Linked DNA regions of Homo sapiens: region 2 is linked to region 1. Evidence: promoter capture Hi-C in 16 types of primary human blood cells and fetal thymus (Javierre and others, 2016). All regions are on one chromosome and are shown on one strand. The core of a region is centred on a gene start or on the middle of the fragment in contact, and the rest is flanking DNA. Distances in the headings are between cores, read along the strand shown.

What was found. Contacts are between HindIII fragments. The CHiCAGO score rates a contact against its expected background, and 5 or more counts as called.
Region 2: a contact is called between a fragment that was not itself captured here and the fragment with the promoter of VIT in region 1, in 1 of 17 cell types (M1 macrophages). The highest score is 5.8, in M1 macrophages.

What each region holds. Positions count from the first base shown.
Region 1 is chr2:36,695,281-36,698,117 of GRCh38, reverse strand. It overlaps VIT (vitrin), which reads right to left and starts at 1,411. Exons shown (of 16, transcript NM_053276.4): 1 at 1,145-1,411. The region is part of intron 2 of LOC124905990 (a long non-coding RNA gene); the gene reads left to right. The HindIII fragment of the contact is 1,435 bases long and covers 1,055-2,489 here.
Region 2 is chr2:36,455,253-36,458,124 of GRCh38, reverse strand. All of the region lies in intron 4 of CRIM1 (cysteine rich transmembrane BMP regulator 1), which reads right to left. Among named protein-coding and RNA genes, the nearest start is that of CRIM1, 100 kb to the right of the region's middle. The HindIII fragment of the contact is 817 bases long and covers 1,099-1,915 here.

The sequences.
Region 1 (2,837 bases), core at 162-2,661:
GCTTTTTGTACAAAAGAGGGTATTTTAATTCAATAAATAAAAGATGGGCACTTCCAGCTCTCCTACCAGCACTAGCTACCACTTGCAGCTAACACACATAGAGAGAAAATACACAAACAAACAGTGTTTGATCCTGCTTTGCTGCAGGGTGTTTTCATCTTTCAAGAGACCAAGGGAAAAACAACCTCAGAACTTTACCACCAAAACTTCCAAATTTATTGCAACACAACGTAACGGCAAAATACTATTTTCTTAGCACACGCAATTTTGAGCAACCACCACGGCCAAGAATGCTTGTTTTTATTTTTACAATAAGTCCAAAGAAAATTTTTAATTCCACTCTTGATTTAGGAATGGCAAAGATGCTGTGGGTTGTTTGGAGAAAACTGTCATGTCTAATTATTCAGTCTTATCCTCTCTCTTTAACCTGTGCTTGAGGCGTTTATTTCATGTTTATACTAGTTGGACACAAATCATACTTAAAAGAGATTTCATATCCTGTCTTCCTGTGAAAAGCTGAGCTACGATGGCAGACTTAACAATGCCAGCCCCTTGTTGGGCTTATCAGTAACAGAAGCATTCAGCCTAAGAAAACACTTTAAGTGTAAACAAGACACAGAATCGCACATCTAGCCACATTCCACTGAAATCTGTCTGAATAGAGAGAAGTAGAGATCCACACGAAATAGTTTCTCTTTTAAGTTAGCACCAATGTGCCCATTTCTCATACTGCCATTCACAATCTTTATAAGCAATTTGCTATATTGCTATTACATTCCACATATTCCAAGCAAAGTTTTTAAAAAAGCAAGATAATAGAGACTTAAATTACTTTAAAATTCTACACAAATGTCATACTTTTCAACTTATTTGTAACCATAATTAAATTGGTTTAAAGGAACAGTAAAAATCTTGTTATAATATTAATATCAATGCAGTTTATTTATAATTGATAAATATATATGTATATTACTAGTTGTTTACAAGGATGCCAAGTACCATCCACTTTCATCTCAACTCTCTTGAAACTGAAATTTGCTTACTCGGTCAAGCTTTGTATTGTAGTTTCTTAAAGACAAATACGTTTCAATGATAATGAATGGAAAGTAACTATATACACAGCTTAGAAATTCATCAGACATACCTTGTTTGAAGAAGGCAATTTTTTTTTCAAAAAATTTTCACCACACAGAATGAATATTCTTTTTCCCTTAGGCTTTCCTGCATCACAAATCCCATCCAAATTATTCTAAGGAAGAAACAGGGAGAGGTCCAAGAACCTTTTCTCTTCTTCTCAGAGGAGCTAATCGAACAGTCCCATCAACCTCTCAGTACTTTGAAAAACACATTTTACACCCCCCCCCACACACATACACACACACACATGCTCACACATACTGCTTCTCACACTGGTTTTAGTGCTGAATTAGGCGGTCCTCTTTCAAATTTCCACTCCCACTGCTTTTTTTTTTTTTTTTTTTTGTAAGGATTTCTAAATATTCTTTTGTAGCCCAAAGCACAAACTTTCAGTAAGCAAATTCTACAATTTGACATTCTAAAAAGTAGAGGAGGACCACTTAGATAAAAATGGAAAGTAAAAGATATGTTTTAAAAATTACTTCAGCAGGGGCAATTCAATTTTTTCTTTCTTTTTCAAAAGCTAGTGAACAGCTGGACTGAACTGCACAAAGAAGGAAAACTGTGCAAACACTCTCAAACTTATTCTACTGGACTCCCACTTTTGAATTGAAAATATGTACTTTTTCCTACATATTAATGCTATTTTTTTGTTTTGTTTTGCTTCAGTCCTTTCTGCGTTTTGGCAAGTTTTATGAAATGACTCAATTATATGCTGGTAGTTACAGGACACAAGATAATCATAGTGGGAAGCAAAACCTGACTCATGTTTCAAAAAAAATACTGATGAATAATCTCACATGAAATCTGCCAGTTTTAGTTATTTATATATTAGTGTCATCAATGAAATCTAAGAGATTCAGATTCAAAATGTGTATTAACGTATCACATCATTAAAAAAAAATCAGACCAAAAAAAAGTACATCTGGCAGATCTTGAGATTCCAGTGTCCATCAGTGTGGCAGAGCATCTGTTTTCAAGCACAGGAGAAGGTAGCAAAGAGTCATTCCTCCTCCTGCTGGGGAGTGTGCACTCACGCAGCTAGGGAGGAGAACCTTCTTCCATTCGAGAAGCCTCCTGTCCTCATCTGTTGGCCCTGGAACTGCTCCTTATTTAAGATAATTGTTTGACAGATCTTGTGCTCTAATGCCAAGTTATACATGGGATGATTGCTGGCACGTCTTCATTGGCTATATAAAATGTGGCCGAGAAGATAGGCTCTCACGGTAAGAAGTCTGTGTTGATTAGGAGTAACTTTGGCCCAGCTCTCTGGTCTAAAGCTCTCAAATGTGACTATGTGAATCTGGGTGGGATTCATCTGCTCAATGCCATTGTGCAGAGATGCATAAGCTTTTTAATGCTATAAAACATGGTAGCTGAAATTAAATGCCACTTTTTCAGAGGTGAATTAATGAAGAGCCTGATGAAATTCAAAGCTTTTTGATGTATAAAACTTGATAAATGGAATGATTCCATCAATAGGCGAAGTGTAGCAAGCTATCTAGATGGATAGTATGTAATTTCTGCACAGGTCACTGTTAAATAAATACATCACTGTACACTGATCAGGAATCTTCCTCCATTAAAGGAACATGAAGACTAAAAAAAGGGAGATAATGATTTGAATGTTATTTAATCATTTTTACCCTTACTTCTTTTGGTTCTGCAATGAAATTATTTCTCAATCCTCTTTATTCCTC
Region 2 (2,872 bases), core at 258-2,757, 240 kb after region 1:
TGAGGTCTTCTGGAAAAGATTTCTTTCAATACTGGATCTACTACACACCGGAAGTGAGTGCTTGAGGCCTTCAAAAGTGGAGACATGACCGCCTATAAATTAAAAACTACTTACAGGTGGGTGGGAGGTCGCCCTTTAGTCAGGAAACAAGGATAAATGAGGAGCAAAAAGGGCAAAGCCCTTGTGTTACTAGGATTCTACACAGTGTGTTAATGAAATAGCTTGTCGGGAATGGAAATTATAATGACATATAAAACACAGTGCTATTCTATAAAAAGTAGCTGCAACTTTAATTAAATTCGATGTACTATCTTTCTACTGATTAAATTTCTTACTCTTTCCAGGAATGTGTAAGTTTTTTTTTTTTTAAAGGCTGCAAATAAAATATCCAAAAAGAAACAGGTTTCCTATCTGAGGGTCCAACCCTTCTTATGGAAAACAGCACTCCTCCCTATGAAAGTTCCTTAGGCTCACAGTTTTCCTCGTGCCTCACCATAAGAGATTTACTACTATCTGTGTATGAATAACTAACCCTCCTTCACCCTTTCTCCCCTGTCTCAAGCTTATTCCTGCGTGATTTCCTGGCATTTACACCCCCTAACACTGACAGATGTGCTGTAGCCACAGCAAGTGCAGCCCTGCCCTGGGGATCACACTCTCCCCCCGCAGCCATCCCTCCCCTGTGTACAGTGAGCAGAAACTGTACCTTCTTCAACACTTTCCCTTTGAAGACCACCAGAAAAAATCACTCTGCCTTTCGTTGTTGTTGTTTTACGCTTTGTTTTTTTCTGGGGGGAGGAATCAAAGGACATGCTCACATGTAGGGAAGGTATAAGTTAAAGACAATTAGGTTTGGGTTCAGTGTATACTGTTCAGGTGATGGGTGCCCCAAAATCTCACAAATCACCGCTAAAGAACTTATGTAACCAAATACTACCTGTTTCCCAAAAACCTATGGAAATAAAAAATTTATAAAATAAATAAAAATAAAATAAAATATTCCCTTGCCTTCCTACTACTGGTAATAATAATAAAGCAGCCATTAAGCTCTTCTCTTCCTAGCTTCCTCCTCGAGGCTGGCATGTGGCTCCGGAAGCTTATCTTAAGGTGCTAAGTTGAAAGGAAAGTGGTATAAGCTGCAGGAGAACAGAAGTTGTAAGTCTACGTGGTTCCTATAAGAATTTAACAATTATCTTCTAGGACTCTGCCCCACAGAAAGTAGGTGTGGTGGGGAGAAAACAACGGCATCTTTCACAAATTACTACCTTGACGTGAGTGGCTAAAAAAAAAAAAAATCAGGGTTAGTTTTGAAGGGACTCAACCCCAGCGGTGGGTGGTGGGGGGGTGGAGACAGACACAGCAGAAACACAGCTGAAAGTAATCGCAGGGCCCGTGCCCCTGTTGAAATGTTACAGCTGGGATCTGGCAGAAATCCTGGGCCACTCAGTCCAGCTCAACAATCCGATATCACACATCGAGAGCTGGCCAAGTCCCAGGAACGGAAGGCTCCCTGCCTTCACTTCCGTAGGTCTAGGGGAAGACAATGGCATCTGCTTTCACGGCTGGTAGGATGGCTTTAGAGAGTAAGACAGGATGGGAGTGAGAGCTGCATGAAGGACTAGTTTGGAAAAGGAGGAAGGGAAACTGGCACATCACGCTGTGGAAAGGAGAACTGGGCTGGGAAGTGGAGAATAAGTTTTAGTTTAGCAACATAGGTTATTCCCACTTCAGAGTGGAATTTCCAACTGCCTCAGAAAATAGATGCTTTGGAACAATGAATCAGCTTGTTTATGAACACGTAATGATTTTGTAGCTGTTTACCGAGTGTGTACATGCAGCAGGTACTAAGCTGGATTGCGGCTGGGGATACACAGGGTTCTGGCCCTAAGTTTAGGGAATTTAGTTTAGGGAAGCTTTTATATATAACCACAAATGAGAACACAATGGGAGGTTGACTATTAAATCCTCTCCCCAGAGCACACAAAGAACAAACACCAACGATGTCTGGACTAACCTTCTACTTGAAAATCTGAGCAAAGCCTCCATTGCCTGGCTGCTAACACTCCTTCAGGCCGCCAGAACCATCTGGGGCCTGAGCTAGTGCTGAAACAGATGACTTTAAGCATGCATCCACTTGGATTCCTTTGGGCAGTCAATTCCCAGCCTCTCATCCTTGTCATCAGTGCAAAGTGAAAGACCGTATTGTCTCTCATCCTCCAAGGAATGCACATCCCCAGAGAGCACTGCTCTGGGACTCATCCCTTCCAACTGACTCCCCTGCTTCCTCCAAACTTTCCTCTGCAGACAAACTCCCCCATCCTCCGAACATATCACACAATGCACCACTCGAATTTGTTTCTAACATTTACCTGGCTCTCCCCTAAAGATTCTATTTCCTTATAGCCATCTCCAGTGAGACTGAGAATCCCCACATCCTACTCACTTATTCACCTGGGATGGAAGGGAGGTCAGCATTCTCCAAGTTGACCACTGGCTACTTGCACATGGTTGCTTTCCTCTCTCATGCAAACCTTCCCTTCCGGTGACTCTGTCTCCTATCCAACGCTTTAGAGGGCAGAGGTTTGGGGAATGCACTTTGGCAACAACACAGTCTTAGGTTCAAGTTCTGGCCGCTTAGGAACTATGTGACCTTGAGTAAGTTAAGTAATCTCTCTAAGCCTCAATTGTAGCCTATGTACAGTGGGGATGATTAAAGTACCCACATATCATATGACTGCTATGTGGATTAAACGAACTGATGAAAAGCACCCAGGATAGTGCCTGGAACACAGAAGCACACAACACCTGTTAGCTGTTTTATATGATTATAATCTGAGAGGCTTGAGAGTCTATGTGGACAAAGTATTTTCAA